2 separate regions of the Homo sapiens genome follow, and region 2 is linked to region 1. The links are contacts of gene promoters, found by promoter capture Hi-C in blood cells and fetal thymus (Javierre and others, 2016). All regions are on one chromosome and are shown on one strand. Each heading gives the region's core, a stretch centred on a gene start or on the middle of the fragment in contact. The rest is flanking DNA. Distances are from core to core; before and after follow the strand shown.

Region 1 (6,183 bases), core at 2,081-4,580:
TTGAGTCTCTTCGTCTCATCTCCGTTTTGATACGTGTCTCCTTAGTTTGTAAGCCAAGGAGAGGACTACAGTGAGGATTGTGGAGGGAAGTGGACCTTATTGGTCTTTGAGCTCTCACATCTTTAAAGACTGTTGGTGCTGAGAGAAAAAGTATCCTCATCTGGCAGAACTCCCATAGGGTGTGCTCCCCTTGCTGTTCTGCTTTTGTTTTGCAGAAAGCTGCCTTTTTCAATGTACTCATTAGGCTTTCATTGTTTTTTCCTTTTTTACCTTTTTCATCTTTCACTGTTGATATCACAGGTGGCCATATCTTTACCAGTGCAGCTACCAAATAAGAAATCATCTTTTCCACATTCACTAGTTAGTGATGGTTGTTGTACTACCATGAAATCAGTTTCTTCTTTACTTTTATTCAGGTTACAAGATTTCTGGAAGGTTTTAAGATCAATTTTAATTAGTCTTTGTGACTGGTTACTTCATCCAGGGGACCAATTTCTCTCTGGAATATTAGTCCCGCACCCCTGGAGAGCCTGTGCGGCTGCATCTCCCTCCGGAGGTGGTTCTGGAGTTGGTTCCTTTTGGTGGGTTCCTGGTCTCGCTGACTTCAAGAATGAAGCCACGGACCTTCACGGTGAGTGTTACAGCTCTTAAAGGTGGCACGGACTCAAAGAGTGAGCAGCAGCAAGATTCATTGTGAAGACGGAAAGAACACAGCTTCCACGGTGTGGAAAGAGACCCGAGTGGGTTGCTACTACTGGCCTGGTGGGTGGGTGGGTGGGTGGGTGCGGAATGTGGCCAGCTTTTATTCCCTTATTTGTCCCCACCCATGTCCTGCTGATTGGTCCATTTTACAGAGTGCTGATTGGTCCATTTTACAAGGTGCTAATTGGTCCATTTTACAGAGCGCTGATTGGTCCATTTTACAGACTGCTGATTGGTCCATTTTACAAACCTCTAGCTAGCCACAGAGCACTGATTGGTGTGTTTTTACAGAGCACTGATTGGCGCATTTTACAAACCTCTAGCTAGCCACAGAGCGCTGATTGGTGCGTTTTACAATCCTAGCTACAGAGTGCTGATTGGTGCATTTTACAATCCTCTTGTAAGACAGAAAAGTTCTTTAAGTCCCCACCCAACCCAGGAAGTCCAGCTGGCTTCTCCTCTCACATCTATGTATTTCTTTGGCTTCATTTAACCTTTGGAGCCATTTTTTTTCAGCAGCAGTGCAACAGCAGCCACCAGCCCGGGTCTCATCCAGCGCTGGTGCTACTGCTGTGAAATGTGTGTTGTTCTGAGCAGCTGTATTTGTGATACTTTGTTACACAGCAGCAAAAAAAGTAATGCAACATCAGTGGTGTTACTGGGTGACAAAGTTTGGGATTGGGGTTGAAGACCCAGCTGATTTAATTATAATTGGTTCTAAATTTAAAATTGCACATAAAAAAAACCCAGAAATCAATGTGAACAACAATAAAAAACATACAAAAGCACTTCCTTCAATGTCTAGATCAAGGCTTCTTTCTCACCCCCTCCAACCTTACCTGTTTCCTCCCTAGATATTCATAGAGAGTAATATATTTTATCATCTAAATAGTCTTCTGTATTGCTCTCTAGTAGCTTTTTGTGTCTACCTAACTAGGCTTCAGATTCCTTGAGGGCGAGGATTTCTGTTCATTTTTGTGCCCCCCACAGTGCCTTGCACATAGAGACTCTAGTAAATGTTACTTATTGGCTGAAGAATTAGGAACATGACCTGCATTTAACAACAAAAAGAGTTTTTGTTAATTAGCTAGCACCCGCTCATCAGCAAGGCCTAAACATCTGCCAGTGGAATCTGAGAAGTCTCTTCTAAAAGTTGAAAAGCTGAGTTTACTCATTACAGATAGGGAACTTGTAGTAGGTGTGTGTGTGCGGGGGGGAGGTTTTACCAGTTAAATCAAATTACAAGAGGTTGGTGCTCAATTTTCAGGAGAGTTTGTGTAGTGATTTTTGTCTTTTTCACTGCATGATGTGACTCTTGATTATGGGATGGAAGAAATTAGCATTATGAATTTTCTCTGTGCCATTTCCATAATTAATTGTTTGTTGACTGTTTTGAAGAAATTTAAGCAGAATTTGAGGACTTAGTTTTAAAAAATGTAGTGAAGGGGCTAGGTAGCAAAAACTTTTTGAAGAAATTCATTGACCTGCTTTCTTAGATCAAGGACTTTTTGAAATAAAAAGGCTCTCAGAGATCCAACTTGTAGCCTCCAGTGGCTTGTAATACTTTCTTGCTGATGTGGCAAGCTACCTTAAGTCGTTTCTAGAACAAGAGGTGAAGTATAAATACCAATGTGACAAAATGTCTGAACAGTAGACTTGAAACTGCAGGAAGATCGTAAGAACCGATTTGTTCAAGGAAGTAGAGGCAATTCATGACTCAATCTAGACGTGTGGTTTAGGCAGATGGCAAGTGAATTCATTTATCATTGTTGATCTGCTTTGAGCTCAGTGGAATCGCCGACTGTGACAATGTGCAGAGCTAGCTGGTGGAAATGAAGTCACAACTCGAGGAGAGTCATGGATTTTGACGAACGTGAATCACCTTTAACATTTTTATGGCTGCCTTCGGAGTGCAAACGCCCAGCATGTCCCTGAGTTATTAAACATTTGCCCTATCACCGTGGGCAGGAGTATTCTGAATACCAAAACGATTTTGAAATTTCAGGCTATACGGCCAACATTGAAGGTGTCTGCATTCAACTGGCCCTGTGAAAGCTTCAGTCTTTTTCATCGAAGTGCTGAAATCGATGGCCGAGTCACAATGAAGACGGGCTCAAATCGGAACCCTCTCGCTCCTCGTTTTGAGCAGCTGTCTTTGAGAGGCAATCTTCTGAATTGACTGGCTCAGAATTGATCCGTGAGAGTCGTAACCATCCGTTTTTGTACGAATACAGTTGATAAACTTTTTTAGACGCCTTTGGCATTTATGTTTAAAACGACACCACCTGCTAAGTAACAAACACTCTTCTTAATCGCGGTGGCAAAAACGTATCCGTCCCGTGTGTGTTTGTTTTTACCCTTCCGCTACACTCTTAAGAAACTTGGCCGCTTCCGCCCCAGAGAGTGCCCTAACCACGAGTCGGGTTGACAGGGCTGCTCGCATGCGCGGTCTCCACCGTGGTGTTTGTCGCAATGGGCGCTGCGCGGAGGACTACATGGAATCTCGACTTTGCAGCTTGAAGTCATTTTGTTGGCGGCGCTGGTTACCGGCTACCTCCGCGCGGGCACTTGATTGTAACAGAAAGTAGTTCCGGCCCATGTTGTTTCGGCCGAGGAGCCGTCGCCGCCATTTCAAGACCGTACTAGGTAGATGGTCAATTAGAGTTCCCAGGGTTTGAAGCCTGTAACTGCTGCCGCCGCTCAAGCCCTCCAGAGCATTGCTACGGCTGCTGCCCTTGTACTACTACCTCCAAATACGTTCTTGCTGGTAGTGGCGGCAGCAGGACCAATTACCTCTTTTTTGCTCTCCCTCGAGAAGCTCCAGATGGCGTCTTCCGTGGGCAACGTGGCCGACAGCACAGGTACCGGTGTCCCGTTCTACCTTGGCAGATGCCCCCTTGGGGTCTCGCGCCGTCCTCTACCTTGTATCACTCCTTCCCTCCCTTCCCTCGAACCATCCCCATTACATCAGTGACATTGCTAAGCTTTTCGTGGTCTACTGGCATCTGATCACATCGGGTTTTCCGCTGTTGTCCGCTTCCCGAACATTTCCTCCTCCTCCCTTGCTTGCTTTTTGCTGCCTTTCTTGCTTTGTTTTTATTTCGTAAATGTTCTAGCATTCCACTCTCTCCAGGCGCTTTTATCACACGTGCGCGCTTAGAATGTCGTGGAATGGACTGCATTGGAATCCCTGCCCTTTCACTCCTTTGCAGCGGTTTTCTCCCCTAATTCCAGCTCATCGCCTCTCCTTTTTCCCCTCCATCTCCTCCTTCATCTCCCCCCCCAGTCTTTTCCCCTTAGCCAGATTTGGTCCTTCTCTGCCAATCTAGGGCGGGGGTGCCGTTCCGATGTAATCATATCCTCACTTTGCATCACCCGAGGACGATCAAAAGCTCGTCGATGGTGCCACAAGTCACCTCGAGAAGAGGGGACATTGAGCAGCACCCTGCTAGGCAGTGCCTTTCTGGTGTTCTTTCGGTTGAGCGGTCCCGGTTTAGATTGGAAATTTCCAGGGGTTTCCTTTGCCATCGCCCAATTCCACCGCTGCCCTCAGCCTGGATTTCCCACCCTGTCCGCGGGGAACCACACCCTTCCCTTCGCGAGGTTGCCAGCCCTGTTCACTTCCTATCCTTGGGGGAGAAACCACCCCGATGCTGCTGCTTTGGCGTTGACCACCCTGCCCGCCCAATTCTCGCTTTGTGTTACTTTCTCGATGTATTCCTCCGCCGCCGCCTCTGGGTCTGCCATCCCCATTCTTCAGCCCAGTATCTCTTTATTCACAGGGTGTAATATTCTTTTAAGTTTCCATCCCTGCTTGAAGAGTTTGTAAAGCAACTGGAGTGTAGCTGCACAAGTACAAGGCGGTTGCCCTTTTAGACACTTCAGTCGCGAGCATTTGGTACTGAAAATACGAAAACAACCAAATTGTAGGAGTGTCCTTCAGCTGCCTTTCCATATTGAGGCGATTTGGGCGGAAGGGGGTGGGGAATTGGGCTGCGCTTCTGAGGTTTCCCGCGAGGTTATTTTTTGGTTGTTTCTCAGTTGAGATGTGTGGAGGGTTTTAGCTACTGTTCCTGGAAGTTGTGCTGTAAGTAGTAGGTGAATCGTCAATAGTGTCTTATCCGTAATTGTAGGGAGTGGGATTAATAATTAGTCCGTGCTCCTCTCCCCACGTCTCCACCGTGATTTTCAAAGGTTTAAGATTCTGTACTGGATTCTGTACTAGCTTGCCCTTTTTAATGTGTTATTTATTTGAGAAAGCTGTCGTTTCAAGTGTTAAAATAGCAGATAAGCGGCATTGAAAAGTGACAAAGTAATGTGTGAAAACAAGGAGCTAGGAAGTTCTAGAGACTTAGCTAAAATGTAATTTTAGTTTCTATTAAAGATATAACCTCTCCCAGATGTGGATGCAAGTCTCAATGCTCTTTGTGTTGGTGGTCAGCTGTGCATTCTGTCAGGAAATTTACTTTGCTTTCCTCAGTATCCGGAACGCTCATCAGCTCTGATGATTGGGGAGCTGGGCTCAAATTTGAACTAGTCACCTTAACCTTGGTAGAATTAAATAATTTGTCCATGGTTTCCCATTTCAACCAGCTAGTGAAGTGCTACGGTCGAATTCCCAGTTTAAGTATTTACAGTTGTGACAAGCAGTTTTTTTTTTTTTTTTTTCCCTCTCTGGGCTTTAGCTATATCCTTTAAAGATCTTTATGTATCTGGATTAAGTCACTTGCAGCGAAGTGCTTTTATTTATTCATTATGTTGCGCTTTATCAAATATATTTTAGCGTCCATCCTCCCTCCCTCCCAACGTTTTGACCATTGCAGTTGCAGGTAACTGCCTGGCTTATATAGGCTTGTTTGCAATGTCTTAATCCTTTAGTCAATACCAGAGCTGTTTGGAAAATGTTAGTGCTAAACCAACGTGGGTGGGATTTAGCCAATTTAGTCTCCTTTTGAGTTTGGGATGGTAGAGGAGCAGTGTAATCTTGGGTCTTTATTTAAAATGTTTGATGACCCCTTTAACTATTTTGGCTGTTGTCAAATGACAAACATCTTGTTTATCAGCTGTTTTAAAAATAGCACTTTGACTTTTTGGTTTTTCCCTTAGGCTCGTTTCTACTTGTCCTTTTAAAGAATTAAATTCTGAAATATACAAAAATTGATATAATTTAAAGAATTAACACATCTGGTGTCCTCACTGAGGTTAAGATTGATAGATTGTTACCAGTACTCCACCTCAACAAATCCAACCTGAAATATGGCACAAAATATTACGTTTCCCAATATGTTATTCTGATATTATTAAGTCTTTGTGACCTTGCAAATCACACGTTTAATATTTTGTTTCTGTATGTTAACTAAGGTATAAGGAATAATGTTCAGTGAATCCTTAGATGCTACCTATGATTTATAATTTAAAAGTACAAAGTATTTTTGGTCATAAAATGTAATCTCATATGGAAGTAAATATTCCTTTCTAGTT
Region 2 (5,237 bases), core at 2,738-5,237, 240 kb before region 1:
GCAACCTCCACCTCCCGGGTTCAAGTGATTCTCCTGCCTCAGCCTCCTGAGTAGCTGGGATTACAGGTGTCTGTCACCACACCCGGCTAATTTTTGTATTTTTGGTAGAGACGGGGTTTCACTGTTTTGGCCAGGCTGGTCTCGAGCTCCTGACCTCAGGAGATCCACCCACCTTGGCCTCCCAAAGTATTGGGGTTACAGATGTGAGCCACTGCACCTGGCTGGAACTTTTTTGTTTTAATTAGGAAATTTCAAACATATAGAAGTAGACAGAATAATAATGAACCTGCACATATGCATTGCATAGCTTCAGTAATTATCAAGTTGTGGTTAATTTTGTTTTATCTGTACCCTTTCCCTATTTTGTCCCCCCATGATCAAGAGATGGGTATCTCACCATGTTGCCTTGGCTAGACTTGAATTCCTGAGCTTAAGCAATTCTCTGTCCTCAGCCTCCTGAGTAGCTGGGACAAAGGCAACGCACCACGGTGCCTGGTTTATTTGTATCTTTAAAAAACTATTTTAAATTGAATTAACCAGGCATGGTATACGTCTGTAGTCTAACTACTCAACTAGGCTAAGCTGATAGGGCTGATTGAGCCTAGGAGTTTGAGGTTACAGTGAGCTATGCTCATAGCACTGCACTTCAGCCTGGGTGATAGAGTGAGACCCAGTCTCTTAAAAAAAAACTAATGATGGTAAAACATACATAACATAAAATTTACTATCTTAACCGTTTGTAAGTGTAGACATTATTTTAAAATCTGGTTCGATTTAGGGAAAGTATATGAGAGGAAAACATTTCTAGACATTATCTACCTCCATAAATGGAAGAGAATAATGTGACAGCAGGATCACTGGATGGGGTGGTCAGAACTGATTTTCATTCCAATCTGCCAAGTCATTTTTCTCTGGGTATCAGGTTTCTCTTTAGTAATATGAAAGGGATCCTGTCAAGGTTCCTGGTTCCAAAGAGGCTTCTTGGAGGATATTCGTGATTCTGGTACATACCTAGCAAAAATTAGACTGAGCATGGTGGCTCATGCCTGTAATCCCAGCACTTTTTGGGAGGCCAAGGTGGGCGGATCACTTGAGGTCAGGAGTTTGAGACCAGCCTGGCCAACATGGTTAAACCCCGTCTCTATTAAAACTACAAAAATTAGCTGGACATGGTGGTAAGCGCCTGTAATCCCACCTGCTCAGGAGGCTGAGGCAGGAGAATCGCCTGAACCTGGGAAGCAGAGGTTGCAGTGAGCTGAGATTGCTCCACTGCACTCCAGTCTGGGCAACACAGCAAGACTCCGTCTCGAAAAAAAAAACTAAAATATTCTAGGTGGTTTTAGGGTGGTCTTTGAGTTTTTGTTTTCGTTTTTTTGAGACGGAGTTTTGCTTTGTTGCCCATGCTGGAGTGCGGTGGCGTGATCTTGGCTCACTGCAACCTCCGCCTCCCGGGTTCAGGCAGTTCTCCTGCCTCAGCCTCTGGAGTAGCTGGAACTACCAGTGCGTGCCACTGCGCCTGGCTAATTTTTTGTATTTTAGTAGAGACCAGGTTTCACCCTGTTGGCCAGGATGATCTCGATCTCCTGACCTCGTTATCCACCCGCCTCGGCCTCCCAAAATTCTGGGATTACAGGCGTGAGCCACCGTACCCGGCCAATGGTCTTTGTTTTCTGGATGATCTGTTGTCATTGGGAGAATAATACCTATGAAATTGATGATCACCTAAGTGTTATTGACTTCTAGAACTACATGTGATTTATTGCAAGGCCATCAGAAGCAAACTAGGGTGGCCAAAGAGCTGAAGCACACAGTTAAGTTCTTTCACTTCTGTTTCTTTGTATGGTTGTTTAGTTTTTCCGGGGAGATATTGAACTATACTGCTTTAGACTGTTGATGGCTGCTAAGGTGTTCTTTGTCAAACTGAGTTATTCTGATTTTCCTCTGCTTCCTAGGAAACCCGAACCCTAGCGGAGATTGCCAAAGTGGAGCTGGACAATATGCCACTCCGTGGAAAGCAGCTGCGTGTGCGCTTTGCCTGCCATAGTGCATCCCTTACAGTTCGAAACCTTCCTCAGTATGTGTCCAACGAACTGCTGGAAGAAGCCTTTTCTGTGTTTGGCCAGGTAGAGAGGGCTGTAGTCATTGTGGATGATCGAGGAAGGCCCTCAGGAAAAGGCATTGTTGAGTTCTCAGGGAAGCCAGCTGCTCGGAAAGCTCTGGACAGATGCAGTGAAGGCTCCTTCCTGCTAACCACGTAAGTGAGGGTCATTTTCAGACGTAGACCTTAGATTGCTAATTCCTTCCATGGTCTGGAGAGTTAGCCTCTAGTAACCACTTTTCTATGTTTAAAGACTTTTGGTCAGCCTGGCATGGTGGCTGACTCCTGTAATCCCAGCACTTTGGGAGGCCGGGGCAGGCGGATCACCTGAGGTCAGGAGTTGGAGACCAGCCTGACCAACATGGTGAAACCCTGTCTCTACTAAAAATACAAAAAATTAGCCAAACATGGTGGCGTGTGCCTGTATTCCCAGCTACTTGGGAGGCTGAGGCAGGAGAATCGCTTGAACCCAGGAGGCAGAGGTTGCAGCGAGCTGAGATCACGCCACTGCACTCCAGCCTGGGCAACAGAGTGAAACTGCCTCAAAAAAATAAATAAAAGACTGGGCAAAACAGCGGCTCACGCCTGTAATCCCAGCAATTTGGGAGGCCGAGGCGGGCAGATCATGAGTTGAGGAGATCAAGACCATCCTGGCCAACATGCTGAAAGCCCGTCTCTACTAAAAATACAAATAAATAAAATAAAAATACCAAAATTAGCGCACATGTAGTCCCAGCAACTTGGGAGGCTGAGGCAGGAGAATCACTTGAACCTGGAAGGCAGAGGTTGCAGTGAGCCGAGATTGTGCCATTGCACTCCAGCCTGGCGATAGAGCAAGACTCTGTCTCAAAAAAAAAAAAAAAAAAAAGACTTTTGGCCCAGGCGGGACAGATCACCAGGTCAGGAGATCGAGACCATCCTGGCTAACACGGTGAAACCCCGTCTCTACTAAAAAATACAACAAATTAGCCGGGTGTGGTGGCGGGCGCCTGTTGTCCCAGCTACTCTGGAGGCTGAGGCAGGAGAATGGCGTGAACCTGGGAGGTGGAGCTTGCAGTGAGCCGAGATTGCGCCACTGCACTCCAGCCTGGGCAAGAGAACAAGACTCCGTCTCCAAAAAAAAAGACTTTTGGTATTAGCCTGGGCATGGTGGCTCATGCCTGTAATACCAACACTTCAGGAGGCTGAGGCGGGTGAATCACGAGGTCCTGAGTTTGAGACCAGCCTGGCCAAGGTGGTGAAACCCCGTCTCTACTAAAAATACAAAAAGTAGCTGGACGCGGTGGTGGGCGCCTGTGATCCCAGCTACTCGGGAGGCTGAGGCAGGAGAATCACTTGAACCCGGGAGGCAGAGGTTGCAGTGAGCCGACATTGCACCACTGCACTCTAGCCTGGGCGACAGAGGAAGACTCCGTTTCCAAAAAAAAAGACTTTTGGTACTAAGCTTTCTCGTATGATTTTTCTGTAATCTTATATTAATAGACGTGGGATGACGATTATGAAAAATAACTTTTTAGTCATTCGGTAGGTTGTCATGTAGTCAGTGTTAAGTCTCTCTTTACTTTGAAGATTTAGAGTTCTGAAAAGTTGATTTGTGCCTGCAGTATCTCTTAGTGTTTACCACAAGTCATTTCTCAGAGTGTCTGTAGATGTTTAGGCTGTACTTAAGTACTGCACCTACCTACTTGGAATATCTTTTTGAGACTGTATTCAGAGATCTAAGTCCTGATTTCGTCCTGTCAACCCCAGATTTTCTTTTTTCTTTTTCTTTTCTTTTTTTTTTTTTTTTTGAGACAGTCTCACTCTGTAGCCCGGGCTAGAGTGGTGCAGTGGCACAATCTCGGCTCATTTCAACCTCTGTCTCCCGGGTCCAAGTGATTCTCCTGCCTCAGCCTCCCAAGTAGCTGGGATTACAGACGTCCGTAGAGTCAGGGTTTCACCATGTTGGCCAGGCTTGTCTTGAACTCCTGACCTCATGATTCACCCGCCTCGTCCTCCCAAAGTGCTGGGATTACAGGCGTGAGCCACCACCCCCAGCCCAACCCCAAATTTTTTATAATGTCATTAGGTATAAAAACTTCAGAAGCCTCCAATCCTGAGCCCTAGCTAATTCATTGTGCCAGTGACATGTGTAGAGAAGAAGCCTGGTGGGGTATGATTTGATTAACACTGAACTTTGTTCTTTCTTCCAGATTTCCTCGTCCTGTGACTGTGGAGCCCATGGACCAGTTAGATGATGAAGAGGGACTTCCAGAGAAGCTGGTTATAAAAAACCAGCAATTTCACAAGTATGCAGTCTTGATAGATTTCCCTATTAGGTGTTTCCTTCTTAAGAAAGCTTATAAAGGGATATGTAAAAGAGGCAGGTCTTTGCTGCACATGTTCACTGGCAGCCATTATCTTGGTCCTCACAAGGAATGCAATTCTTAGCTGGGGTAATTCTGGACAAAGTTAGTAACCTAGGAACCTTGCCTATAGGGAACGAGAGCAGCCACCCAGATTTGCACAGCCTGGCTCCTTTGAGTATGAATATGCCATGCGCTGGAAGGCACTCATTGAGATGGAGAAGCAGCAGCAGGACCAAGTGGACCGCAACATCAAGGAGGCTCGTGAGAAGCTGGAGATGGAGATGGAAGCTGCACGCCATGAGCACCAGGTCATGCTAATGAGACAGGGTGAGTCTAGGCCTGTAAGTCTTAAAGCTGAAAGGACAAAATGACATTTTTAAATGGGTTTCTTTGTATCAATTAACAGAAGGGCCTACATCTCTGCTTTTATACTTAGTTTGCGTTGATTTTGGTAGATAAATAGGCTTGGAGATGTGGCAGAGATACTGGATTCTGTGGAGAAGGAAATGATAGGTATAACTTCATTTTGGAATCTGGACACCACAGGTGGTTCCAAAGGAATTAGATCCTCTTTGCTTTCTGGATCTTTATTTGAAGAAAGTCATTAGATCTATATGAAGACAATGAGGAATATTCTTAGTCTGTTGTTTTTTTAGATTTGATGAGGCGCCAAGAAGAACTTCGGAGGATGGAAGAGCTGCACAACCAAGAGGTGCAAAAACGAAAGCAACTGGAGCTCAGGTAACTTTTCTCGAACACTTTTTCCCTAACAACTCTAAAAGGTAATGTCT

The links. The method cuts DNA at HindIII sites, captures the fragments that hold promoters and counts their contacts. A CHiCAGO score of 5 or more calls a contact.
Region 2: a fragment that was not itself captured here is called in contact with the fragment with the promoter of OGT in region 1 in 3 of 17 cell types (fetal thymus, total B cells and naive B cells); the score reaches 7.1 in fetal thymus.

Annotation. Positions count from the first base shown.
Region 1 is chrX:71,529,774-71,535,956 of GRCh38, forward strand. OGT (O-linked N-acetylglucosamine (GlcNAc) transferase) reads left to right here and starts at 3,331. Exons shown (of 22, transcript NM_181672.3): 1 at 3,331-3,563. The coding sequence starts at 3,527. It also overlaps a transcript of TAF1 not described here. RefSeq lists enhancers at 2,382-3,581, 3,082-3,421, 3,247-3,905. The HindIII fragment of the contact is 929 bases long and covers 2,756-3,684 here.
Region 2 is chrX:71,292,275-71,297,511 of GRCh38, forward strand. It overlaps NONO (non-POU domain containing octamer binding), which reads left to right. Exons shown (of 12, transcript NM_007363.5): 5 at 1,953-2,254; 6 at 4,291-4,386; 7 at 4,577-4,773; 8 at 5,103-5,187. Among named protein-coding and RNA genes, the nearest start is that of ITGB1BP2, 6.9 kb to the right of the region's middle. The HindIII fragment of the contact is 894 bases long and covers 3,541-4,434 here.